Linked DNA regions of Homo sapiens: region 1 is linked to region 2. Evidence: promoter capture Hi-C in 16 types of primary human blood cells and fetal thymus (Javierre and others, 2016). All regions are on one chromosome and are shown on one strand. Each heading gives the region's core, a stretch centred on a gene start or on the middle of the fragment in contact. The rest is flanking DNA. Distances are from core to core; before and after follow the strand shown.

Region 1 (6,255 bases), core at 1,464-3,963, 520 kb before region 2:
GTCCCTTGCTCACCCTCACCTCGTCTTAGGTCAGCTGGCTGAGGCCCATCCCATCTCACTCTGCAGCACTGGCCCTAACCTGGCCCCTTCCCTGATCCAAAGACAGACGCAGGGCTTATCCCTTCAGAGACAACTCTCCCTCCCCCAGTGCTCCCTACTTGATGTCTCCATGCCTTCACCTTCCATTCACTCAAGTCATGGCCTTCCAGATTCCTCCCTCCCTGCCTGGGCCTGCTCTCCAGCACCAGGTTGCCATAATGACTAAGACTGGCTGCTGCAGGAATACCCTCAGGGGTGCAGGAGGACTCAGCTCTGCCAGGACAGATGAAAGCACAGCAGGCCCTGGACTAAGCTTAAGCTAGCCCTGCCTAGGAAGGGGTGGAGGCAGCCAGTGCCCTCTGGGATGTGGGTACCCCATGGTAGGGCACAGAAGCACACAGGAAAGTGAAGCCATAGGCACCAGGGTAAGACCAGAAGAGGCCTCACAGAGGAGGTAACGTTTGAGATGAGCCCTGGACAGTCGGGACAGGCAGGACTTCCAAGAGGAGGGTGGGATATGAGCAAAGGCTCCCCAGGGAAAGCTGGGGACCCGCTCGGACAACCCCGGGAGATGGAAAGGCCTCAAAGGCCAAACCTCACTCAGGCTCAAGTGCAGTGGCACCATCACGGCTCACTGCAGCCTTGATCTCTCAGGCTCAAGCAATCCTCTTACCTCAGCCTTCAGAGTAGCTGGGACTATAGGTGCACACCACCACGCCTGGCTAATTTTTGTTATTTTTTCTAGAGATGGGTTTCACCATGTTGCCCAAGCTGGTCTCGAAAAGAACTCCTGGGCCCGAGCAATCTACCCGCCTTGGCCTCCCAAAGTGCTGGGACTGTAGATGTGAGCCACGGAGCCCAGCCCGTTTCTGTTTTCCTAGGGTTCACATAGCCCAGAGAGACCCAGGACCCCGTAAGAAACTGCTGACAGCTGGATTTGCCTGGACATATTCACATGACACCAAGCAACCACGAGTGCATCTAGTGTGACTGTCCTCCATGTCCCCTCCAACCCCCTCCCCTGGGTCTGGAGTTGACCCTTACATCCTGCCCACTTTTAGGCCACCTTGGGTGAAAGGATACCAGAAACCAGAGGTGCCTTCTTCCTCTTGCTGGGCGGCAGGGAGTCCCAAGACCTGGAGCTGCCTCTGGCGTGCAGTTTGTCATCCCACCATTCTGCCCCGAGACCCAGAGTTAGAATTGGGGTGCTGGCCCACAGGATACTCCCTTTTCTGTAGCCTCTGCCTCCACCATGGGCCGGCCTGGCCTCATCTCCCCTGTCCCATCACCACCCTGGGCTTGGGGTAGAAGCCCCTTAGGGCTGTTCAGGTCCTGCCTGCACAGCTGCACAACCCTGGGAAGAGGTCACTGCACTTCTGTGAGCCTCATCTGTTTAGTGGAGAGTGGGATGACGACAATTCCTGCCACCCCAGGACTCCACGTGAACACAGGTACTATGAACATGGAGGGGACTAGAGCTATTGCATGTGACTGCATGTCACACTGATACCTGTTTTGGAAAGAGCAGGGGCAGAAGAGGCAGGGAGACCCACTCTGCTTGAGCCCCCATTATGTGCCAGGCCCTTTCCAGGCCTGGTCTCCTTCAGCCCTCACACTGACCCCAACAGGCAGGTCCTCTGGCTGTCCCCTTGACTTCAGGACATCTGAAGCCCAAAGAGGGGTGGGCGTGGACTGAGCGGGGCCCAGTTCCGGGGTGCCCAGGCTCTCGCGCTTACCAGAGCTGAGGTCCAGGCTCTGGCGGTCCTCCTCCAGCCTCTGGATCCGCTCCTGCAGCTCCCCCTGCAGCGTGTCATAGAGCAGCAGCTTCTCACTCTGGAAGAGGGGGCAATAGCTCAGCAGGACGGATGGGGTGAGGCCACTTCAGGCTTTGTGCCCTGCCTCACCCCCAGTGTGCCCAATCAGGCCCACCTCCAGGTGCTGTTTGGCTCCCTGCAGCTCACATTCGTACTTATTCCTGATCACATCCAGACAGAAGCCCTTGTAGATCCCTGCAGAGAAAGGGAGGAGGGTCCCTGCTTGGCTGGGGAGCCCGGTGCCCACATAGGAGGGCTGAGAGCAAAGGGCAAGGCCGGGCAGGAACGAGAGAGGAAGGGGACAGGGTGCCACGGGTTCTGGGAGGGGAAGAGGGTACAGAACCACCCACAGACCTGCCACCTGAATGCGAATCTTGAGGCTCCGCTGCAGCCCCCCAAGGGGCTCCGTGTATTCAGGGGCTCTCTCAGCCCCCACTTCCTCCAGCCGCAACCGCAGCTGACTCAGTCGTTCCCTGAACAACCTGCGTGGTAAAAAGGCAGCCGTGCACCCATTTGCTCACCCATCGCTCTTGGGCAAACACATACCCAGCACCCATTCCACAGCAAGCCCGGTGTTAGGCGCGCACTTCCTGGGCACCAACCACGCCTGCCCAGTACCAGGCCCACCACCTCCTCATCCCAGATCCTCGCAGACCCAGCCCAAGGTGTCCCCACGCTCACTTCTCCTTTAGCTCCGAGAACTGCTTCTCTAGGTCCAGCATCTCACTGACACACTCGCTGCGGCGTCGCTCATAGTCCTCATCATCCATCTCTGGGACAAGAGGCCAGTAAGGGCTAGCTCTGGGGAGGAGTGGTGGGTACCCGCATGTGTGCATGTGCGTCCTGCATGTGTGTGTGTGCATGCATGCCTGTGTGTAGGGCCTGTGTGTGTGTGCGCGTACATGCTTGTGTGAAGGGGCTGTGTGTGTGCGTGTGTGCTTGTGTGTAGGGGCTGTGTGTGCATATGCGTGCGTGCTTGTGTGAAGGGGCTGTGTGCACGTGTACTTGTGTGAAGGGGCTGTGTGTGTGCATACGTGCTTGTGTGTAGGGGCTGTGTGTGCGTGCTTGTGTGTAGGGGCTGTGTGTGCGTGTGTGCGCTTGTGTGCAGGGTCTGTGTATGTGCTTGTGTGTAGGCGCTGTATGTGCATGTGCGTGCATGCTTGTGTGTAGGGGCTGTGTGTGTGCATGTGTGTGTGTAGGGGCTCTGTGTGTGTGTGTGTGTGTCTGTGTGTGTAGGGGCTCACCGGAGCTCTCCTCTTCTGACTCTGTCTGGCTGCCGCTCCGCTCCTCCTCACTCTCTTCCTCCTCCCCATTCATCTCAGCAGCAGAATCACCCTCTGCTTCCATCTCTTCTGTGTCTTTGCTTGGAGGCTGGACAGGCATCTGGACTCTGGGAGAAGGAATGGAGCTATCACTTATGGCTGCCCACAGCTCAGAGGGGGAAAGAGGCAGCAGGATGCTGAACACAACTCGATCCCAGATGGGGAAAGCCAGGGAAGTAACTGGCCTGGCCACACCTTGAGCACAAACTGGGTGACAAGGGTGCAAATGGCCATCTGCACCTCTCACAGAAGGCTGGGAGCTGTGGAACTGCTCCTGCTCTTGGATGTCACTGGTGATCCTAATCCTAGCAATACTGGCCAAGGCTGTGATCCACAGAAAGGAAAGGCCCAGGGGGCACTCTCCACTGCCTTTGCAACTGGACCTAAATTTCTTTTCTTCTTATTATTTTTTGAGACAGAGTCTCGCTCTGTTGACAAGCTGGAGTGCAGTGGCACGATCTCAGCTCACTGCAACCTCCTCCTCCTGGGTTCAAGCGATTCTCCTGCCTCAGCCTCCTGAGTAGTGAGATTACAGGCGCCCGCACCACACCCAAACTGGACCTAAATTTCTAACTGGGGCTTTCAAGGTCTTTCCCAGACTGGACTTGACCTACCGGTCCAGCTCCTTCATCCCAACATATAATGGCTAGTGCTTGCACTTCCACTATCCACCCTCTGCCTCAGCTGTTCCTTCTGCCTATAATGTCCTCGGCTTCTCTTCCAGATAATGTTACAATCTCCTTGTCTTTCATTGTGCTCTGGGTCAAATCCCATCTCCTTCTGCTTCCTCTTGGACCGCAGGTCATCAGTGCTCCCCTCTCTTTTCTGTGTCTTCAGCTTCTAACTCTTAGCAACCTCCTTCCCATGAAACTTTGGATGTGCTTGGGTACTTCCTAGCATTAACAAAACACAGAAACACAAAACCTCACCCATTCCACCTAACTGCTCCATTTGCCACTTCACAGTTACACTTTTCAAGGTCTCATGAACACTGGCTGTTCCTACTTTCACCTCCCACTTGTTCGATGTCCTCAATCTCAGCTGAAACTGATCCCGTAGCATTAACCAATGACTTCCTTGTGGCTAATGCCAATATTTTTCAGTGCTTATTTTAATTGTCTGCTCGGCAACATCCAACACTGGTAAGCATTCCTTCTTTTACTGACTCATCTAACATGTATTGAACATCTAACATATGCTAGGTACCGTCAGACGCTATGGTATGCAGGCGCCCAAGTGTGAATGTCTTTGACCTCACGGAGTTTACAAGTTCCTGGGAGACAGGGGCAAAGGAGCACACTATAACCATGATAGGAGGAGAGTTAAGACCAGGGGCATAAGGGAGGGGTATATAACCAGGACCTGGAGCCCGATGCAGCAGGGAGGCTTCCAGACAAAGATGGACCAGCTGGGTGAGCTGCACTTATTGAGGGAACATTCCAGGTAGAGTCAGTAGCAAAGACCCAGAAATAAGAGAAGGAAAGCAGCTGGGGGAACATGGGTCTAAGTCTCAGTGAGAAATCTGAGCTGCAGGGATTTGGTCGTCAGCATACAGCAAGTTCTTCATGCCACAGGAGAAGGTGCAACCAGCAAGGCACAATGTGTGCGATCAGAAGACGCCCAGGGTCACCAAAGGGGCAGATGAGGAGACCCCTACAAAGGAGGAGGCAAAACCCGAAGTGGTGGAGAAAGAGTTTTAGAAGAAAGCCAAGTACTGCCAAGGAGTAATTGCACTGATAGTGCCAAGTACTGCCAAGAGATCACCTAAGAAGAAGAAAACAGTCCTCTCAGCAGATAATCTCTCAACCTCCTGCAGGCTTCTATTTTATTGTGTTCTTCCAACTTCTCTGGACACTGCTTTGTAGTCCTTTAGAACAGTGCAGACACCACTCCCTCCAGGAAGCTTTGTTTATATCTATTTGCCTGTTCTCATATCTGTCCCCGCAATCAGTCTATGAGCCTCACTAGGGCAGGGGCTGCACATGTAACTTATTTACCTAGCACAGTGCTGGTTCACTTGATGACTGGAGGATTTGCAAATACAAATTTAACAAAAAAATTTTTTGTGAGACAGACATTAGTTTTTACTTTTCGGTAGTCCCAGGTCCCTGTAATGGTAGCAAGCTTTCCTTGACACCAGTTCAAGTTGTGTATAGTAAGCCTGGCCTAGGTGAGTGTTTAGTCATATTCCTCAACAATTTCACTAATGACCTGCACCTGACTTGAAAGGCTCGGTTCTCTAAACCAGCTTCATCTTCCCGTTATCAAGCCTCAGTTCCCAACATTTGCAATGCCTCTTCACTGTTAGTATATTCACTTTGTAAGATGCAGCTTAAGTCTATCTCTTCCAGAAGCCTTTCTTTCCTCCCCCTGGTTCTGATTATGAGTGAGTTAAGTCACAACCTTCCCACCTTACCCCGGGTGCAAAAAGCGGATAACCATTCCTGCTCTGAGTGTTGAGGAGCTCACAGGTGGTAAGGGATGGAAAAGCACACTGTAAAGCGCTGTACACAGGCAATTTATCTTTTCAGAATGGCAGCTCCTCCGGGGCAGGCCCCTAGGGAAGGCAGACCCTCCCCACTCTCGCAGAGGTCAATCCAGCTTCTCCGCAGCGCCCAGGGGGCCTCCCGCTCCCTTCTAGATGCGCCGGAGCGGGCCGGAATATCACTGGCTCGCCCGCAGCCCAGCACGCGTCAGGCCGGTTAAATCTCTGCTTCGGCCTCGGAGGAGGAGGTTGTGCCGGCCCTGCTCGACTAACCGGAGAGGGCGAACCAAAAGCCATGCATGACGATACGCACCGCGGGGACTGGAGCCTCTGGCCTCACGACGGAGATTCCCTGAGAGCTGCCCGTGGTTGCCGGTACCGGCTGCTGCCGCCGGACTCCCGTAGGCGCTGCGCGGCTCCCTTTTCTTCGGGAGGCAGAGCCTATCGGTGCTTCCGTGTGCGTCATCAGGAGGCGACCGTCGGGGATGCTCACAGTTGGACAGTTTGGTCCCGAGGCATGCTGGGATACCGCGGGCCGGTCTCCATAGTAACTGGCCGACATTCGCGCAGGCCTTCGGCCTGCAGGGAAGGCCCT
Region 2 (5,753 bases), core at 1-2,500:
CATCCAACTCTCCTGGCCTACAGGAGGAACTTGTTTTCAGTGGTCAGGTAACGTGCCCAGGACTACACTGCTGTGCTGACAGGATCAGAATTCCAATCTTGGGTTTCCCCGAGTTTCCTGCCACCTGGCCCATGGGGATCAGGGCTGGAGGGAGAACGAGGATGGCTGAGGTTTAGGTGGCTTAAGGACCAGGAGACACGGGGAGGTGGTGACTTCCTGTTTCCCAACTGGGCAGACCACTGGTGGTGGCGGGCACAGCTGGAAGGAAACCAGGCTCGCCGAGCCACCGAAGCCCCAGCTTTCTCAACCAGGAAGCAAAGAACCTCCCCCACCTCACGCCGGGAGCCCTTTCTCTGAGAGGAGCTGGTTCCGAGCCGCTCTTCCAGGGAAATGGCCCGGCGGCGACAGAGCGGGAGGGAGGGGCCGCAGGCGCTGCGAGGACGCACAGCTTCCCAATGCGTGCCCCCGGCGGTTGGGAAGCCGCGCCGCGCAGACCAATCCGGCCCGAGGCGGAGGCCGGTTGGCTCCGGAACGCCTGGCCCGCGGGGCGGGCGGGGCAGCTGGGGAGGGAGGGAGAGGCGAGAGGCAGCTGGGGACAGGGCGGGGCGGCGGGGGCGGGGCGCCTGCCCGGAGGCCAAGCCCTCTCGGCCCCACCCCGCAGCAGCCCTGCCAGGGGCGCCGCCCCAGCCCCCCCCACGGCCGAACCCCGTGCCGGTTGGGGACCCTCCACGTGACTCGGTGATGCAGAACGGTTATGACCTTCAGCGTGTGTCTGTGAACGCAAGGGTCCCAGCAACAGTGCGGGTTTGCGCTCGGCCCTGCCCGTGGGTGCAGGGACGTGTGGGTGTGTGGGCATGTGTGGGTGTGTTGGGGAGGGTGCCCAGCGACATGTGACAAAGACGCCCGTCTCCGGGAGATGGTGAAGGGGCCCGCGAGCAGGCGCTTTGTCTGGCTGTCTGCAGAGTGAGGTTCGCGCCGCGGCGGCGGGCGCCCGTGCGGTGCAGGATGCCGGGGCGCCAGGATGGCCGGGGGCGCGCGCGCCTGTGCCAGGGTGAGTGCGCTGCGGCAGCGCCGGGGGACAGCGCGGAGGGCCCGCGCCGGCCCGGGCCTCGGGCGTGACTGGGCGCCACCCGTGGGCGCTGCAGCGGCCGCGTGTCCCCGTGACCTCAGGAGCCGGCCCGGGCCCGGGTGGATCCCCGCGCGCCCCTCCCCGTCCGCCCTCCACGTGCGTGTCCGCGGCGCGCGCGCCCGCCGGCGCGCACCCGCTCGCCTGTCGCCGCCGCCACCGCTAACCGCGCCGGGAAAAGGTGCCGGGAACCGAGCGAGCCGGGGCCGCGGGCCCGAGCGCCATGGGCCCGAGGGTGGGCGGCGGGCGGCCGGTCATCCCCGGGCCTCGTCCCCGCGGGAGAGCGGCCAGGAGTCGGCGGGGGCCGGCCGGGCTCGCAGGGAGGCCGGCCCGCGCCCCCTGAGCGACGGACACCAGGTGAGGGGGCCGCCGGGCGCAGCGCGGGGGCCGGCCAGGGAGGGGCCACGGACTCCACGGGAGGTTCGGGGGGCGCCTTCTCTGGCGGGGGAGGGTATGGCGGGGAGTGGGGAGGCGGCTGGCGATTCCTGGGGACGCCTGGGAAAGGAAGTTCCGGGACCCTCCCTGCTCTCGGTCCTCCTCCGCTTCCTGCCTCATGCCTCACCTTGTCCCCAGCGCCTGGACTCCCCCTTAACTGCTTGGGAAATGTGACCTTTGCTCTGGGGGGCCTGGCCCTGCAGGCCCCAACCTTCCCTCATCTCTGGCGGCCCTCTTGGGCCTCTGACCCAGCCCCTCCCCGGGCCAGGCTCACAGAAGCTGGCTTCTGGGACTGTCCTGGGCCCAAGTGGGCACCTGCGCCAGCCCCACCTGTGCCTGGGCTGTGGCCCCTTCCTACAGGGCGCTCACCATGGCCCCGCCGCTCCTGCTGCTGCTGCTGGCCAGTGGAGCGGCCGCCTGCCCGCTGCCCTGCGTCTGCCAGAACCTGTCCGAGTCGCTCAGCACCCTCTGTGCCCACCGAGGCCTGCTGTTTGTGCCGCCCAACGTGGACCGGCGCACAGTGGAGCTGCGGCTGGCTGACAACTTCATCCAGGCCCTGGGGCCCCCTGACTTCCGCAACATGACGGGACTGGTGGACCTGACACTGTCTCGCAATGCCATCACCCGCATTGGGGCCCGCGCCTTTGGGGACCTCGAGAGCCTGCGTTCCCTCCACCTTGACGGCAACAGGCTGGTGGAGCTGGGCACCGGGAGCCTCCGGGGCCCCGTCAATCTGCAGCACCTCATCCTCAGCGGCAACCAGCTGGGCCGCATCGCGCCGGGAGCCTTCGACGACTTCCTAGAGAGCCTGGAGGACCTGGACCTGTCCTACAACAACCTCCGGCAGGTGCCCTGGGCCGGCATCGGCGCCATGCCTGCCCTGCACACCCTCAACCTGGACCATAACCTTATTGACGCACTGCCCCCAGGCGCCTTCGCCCAGCTCGGTCAGCTCTCCCGCCTGGACCTCACCTCCAACCGCCTGGCCACGCTGGCTCCGGACCCGCTTTTCTCTCGTGGGCGTGATGCAGAGGCCTCTCCCGCCCCCCTGGTGCTGAGCTTTAGCGGGAACCCCCTGCACTGCAACTGTGAGCTGCTGTGGCTGCGGCGGCTGGCGCGGCCGGACGACCTGGAAACGTGCGCCTCCCCGCCCGGCCTGGCCGGCCGCTACTTCTGGGCAGTGCCCGAGGGCGAGTTCTCCTGTGAGCCGCCCCTCATTGCCCGCCACACGCAGCGCCTCTGGGTGCTGGAAGGCCAGCGGGCCACGCTGCGGTGCCGGGCCCTGGGTGACCCCGCGCCTACCATGCACTGGGTCGGTCCTGACGACCGGTTGGTTGGCAACTCCTCCCGAGCCCGGGCTTTCCCCAACGGGACCTTAGAGATTGGGGTGACCGGCGCTGGGGACGCTGGGGGCTACACCTGCATCGCCACCAACCCTGCTGGTGAGGCCACAGCCCGAGTAGAACTGCGGGTGCTGGCCTTGCCCCATGGTGGGAACAGCAGTGCCGAGGGGGGCCGCCCCGGGCCCTCGGACATCGCCGCCTCCGCTCGCACTGCTGCCGAGGGTGAGGGGACGCTGGAGTCTGAGCCAGCCGTGCAGGTGACGGAGGTGACCGCCACCTCAGGGCTGGTGAGCTGGGGTCCCGGGCGGCCAGCCGACCCAGTGTGGATGTTCCAAATCCAGTACAACAGCAGCGAAGATGAGACCCTCATCTACCGGTGAGGATGCGTGCCCCACACCCGGCTGCACTCCCGGCGCCCTTCCTCCGCCCTCTGCTCCCCACAAGGCTTTGCTTCCACCCCTCCTCTCTCTGGGGCTGACACCCCCTCCCCGACCATGGCTGCTGGACTCTTGGAGGAGCAGTGGCCTGGCCTGGCCTGGCTGCCTGAGGGGGCTGGAGCTCAAGGGGCGGCAGAAGGACCCCACCCCGAGATGTCCCAGGTGTCACTGAGCTGTGCAGGCCTCCCCGGCAGCAGGTGGCGGTTGGGTCTGTCTGAAGCACATGGCCCGCGCCCGCGTGTTATTTCTGCCTCTGCTGGTGCCATCCCCCCACCCCATTCCCCTCGCTTGCCTGCGTCCTGTGCCAGTGCACACACCCATCTCCTGGCCACACTCTCCAGCCTGTTCACCTTCCTGAGTGAACCCAAGAGCCCGAGTGGCCCCAGGGGGAGGGGTGTTTGGAGCTGGGAGCACGGGAGTGGGGAGGTGAGGATGGGGCTAGACCCCAGCCCCGGGCTCTGACCACCTGCCCTTGCCTGCAGGATTGTCCCAGCCTCCAGCCACCACTTCCTGCTGAAGCACCTCGTCCCCGGCGCTGACTATGACCTCTGCCTGCTGGCCTTGTCACCGGCCGCTGGGCCCTCTGACCTCACGGCCACCAGGCTGCTGGGCTGTGCCCATTTCTCCACGCTGCCGGCCTCGCCCCTGTGCCACGCCCTGCAGGCCCACGTGCTGGGCGGGACCCTGACCGTGGCCGTGGGGGGTGTGCTGGTGGCTGCCTTACTGGTCTTCACTGTGGCCTTGCTGGTTCGGGGCCGGGGGGCCGGAAATGGCCGCCTCCCCCTCAAGCTCAGCCACGTCCAGTCCCAGACCAATGGAGGCCCCAGCCCCACACCCAAGGCCCACCCGCCGCGGAGCCCCCCGCCCCGGCCGCAGCGCAGCTGCTCTCTGGACCTGGGAGATGCCGGGTGCTACGGTTATGCCAGGCGCCTGGGAGGAGCTTGGGCCCGACGGAGCCACTCTGTGCATGGGGGGCTGCTCGGGGCAGGGTGCCGGGGGGTAGGAGGCAGCGCCGAGCGGCTGGAAGAGAGTGTGGTGTGATGGACGGGCAGCTTCCTGTGTGCTCCAAGGGATGAGCCTCGTGGGGCAGAGGGCCCGGGGCCGCCGCCTGGCCTGGGAGTCCCTCCCTGGTTTTTATTCTCAGTACCTCAGGCTCCCCTGTGTACTTGGAGGGGCAGGGAGCCCTTTCCTCGGTTCTGGCCTCCAGACCAGGGTAAGGGCAGGCCCCTCCAACAGGTGCTCACAGCCACCGAGGCAGGGGCTGCAGCCACCCACTGGGAGTCTTGTTTTTATTTATAATAAAATTGTTGGGGACACCTCAGTGCTAGTCTCTGGTGTTGTCTGGCTAGGTCCCCCGAGACGGGAGGACAGGACACGGGCCGCTGGTGGCACACGGACAAGGGTGGGGCTACCAGGGCCGGTGGGGGCAGTCACAGCAGCCTGGGGCCTCCTGGCTTCCTGTCCACAGGGGCGGCCCAGGGCTGCGGCCAAGGGCTGTGCCTGGTGTCTTCTGACCTGCAAGAGCATGGGCTTGGGCAGGCGGCCTACCCTCGCCTGTAAGTGCAAAGAACGCCCCTTCCTGCCAGGTGGCGACAGGACGCCGTATCCAGTGTAAAGCCTGGGGAGCACGTGTGAGCGCCTTCCCCATGGCACTTCAGGGTCTGCGGGGCGGACACAGGACTGGACTAAGCAACAGGAGGAGGTGGGGGACGGTACAGCCCTCTGGGAGAACGGACCTGGGCTGAGCGTACAGTGAAAAGTCCTCATGGCTCCAGGTGCTGACAGCTGTGTCTGCCACCTCCCAGGGCATCTTGTGGACTGGTAAAACGCCATCCCAAAGGGACTGGAAGGGCAGGGAACCCCACTGCTCTGCCATCAGCCCGTGATCCTCTGGAAGGTTCCTGTCAGAACTGTGGGTCCGAGCAGGACCGCAGCTGCCAGCTCAGATGTGCTCTGGGCCTTCCTGGGAAGGCGGCCTTCGCCCTCCCTCGCTGCAGGGAGGCAGCCGGATGGGCACGAGCCCTGCTTTCTCTGCTAGGACCCCTGGCCAGGCCCGGGCAGCCTCCGACCTGGCCCAGCCCCTGCAGCCTCCTGAACTATCTGCTTCTAGGCACTGGCTGGGGGGCATGGGCAGACGTGGCCCTCAGCCCTGCAGAGGGTCAAGCTCCCCCAGGTGCTGTATGAAAACTCAGAAGGCGGCCCTGGCACCCCAGGCCACGGCAAACACGCTGCACAGACTCCCTGGTGTTTTCTGTGTGAGGGCCAAGGCGCTGCCACCGGGCAGCCGAGGTGAGGCAGGTGCTCTAAGGCATACGTGTGTTCACGTGTGCATGGACCTGGCTCACACGCGTGTGCCTGCCCTCCCAGCCCCAGAACATGCAGCTAGAGGTGGGCTTCGAGAGCCTGGTTTAG

What was found. Contacts are between HindIII fragments. The CHiCAGO score rates a contact against its expected background, and 5 or more counts as called.
Region 1: a contact is called between a fragment that was not itself captured here and the fragment with the promoter of LRFN4 in region 2, in 1 of 17 cell types (neutrophils). The highest score is 5.3, in neutrophils.

Annotation. Positions count from the first base shown.
Region 1 is chr11:66,338,999-66,345,253 of GRCh38, forward strand. BRMS1 (BRMS1 transcriptional repressor and anoikis regulator) reads right to left here and starts at 6,106. Exons shown (of 10, transcript NM_015399.4): 1 at 5,974-6,106; 2 at 3,098-3,243; 3 at 2,535-2,625; 4 at 2,208-2,335; 5 at 1,969-2,048; 6 at 1,776-1,872; 7 at 1,123-1,215. The coding sequence starts at 3,236. RefSeq lists enhancers at 5,846-6,255, 5,852-6,255. The HindIII fragment of the contact is 4,726 bases long and covers 351-5,076 here.
Region 2 is chr11:66,855,814-66,861,566 of GRCh38, forward strand. LRFN4 (leucine rich repeat and fibronectin type III domain containing 4) reads left to right here and starts at 1,251. Exons shown (of 2, transcript NM_024036.5): 1 at 1,251-3,280; 2 at 3,824-4,662. The coding sequence starts at 1,932. The coding sequence ends at 4,382. All of the region lies in intron 12 of PC (pyruvate carboxylase), which reads right to left. RefSeq lists silencers at 337-866, 1,027-1,136. The HindIII fragment of the contact is 17,472 bases long and covers 1-5,753 here.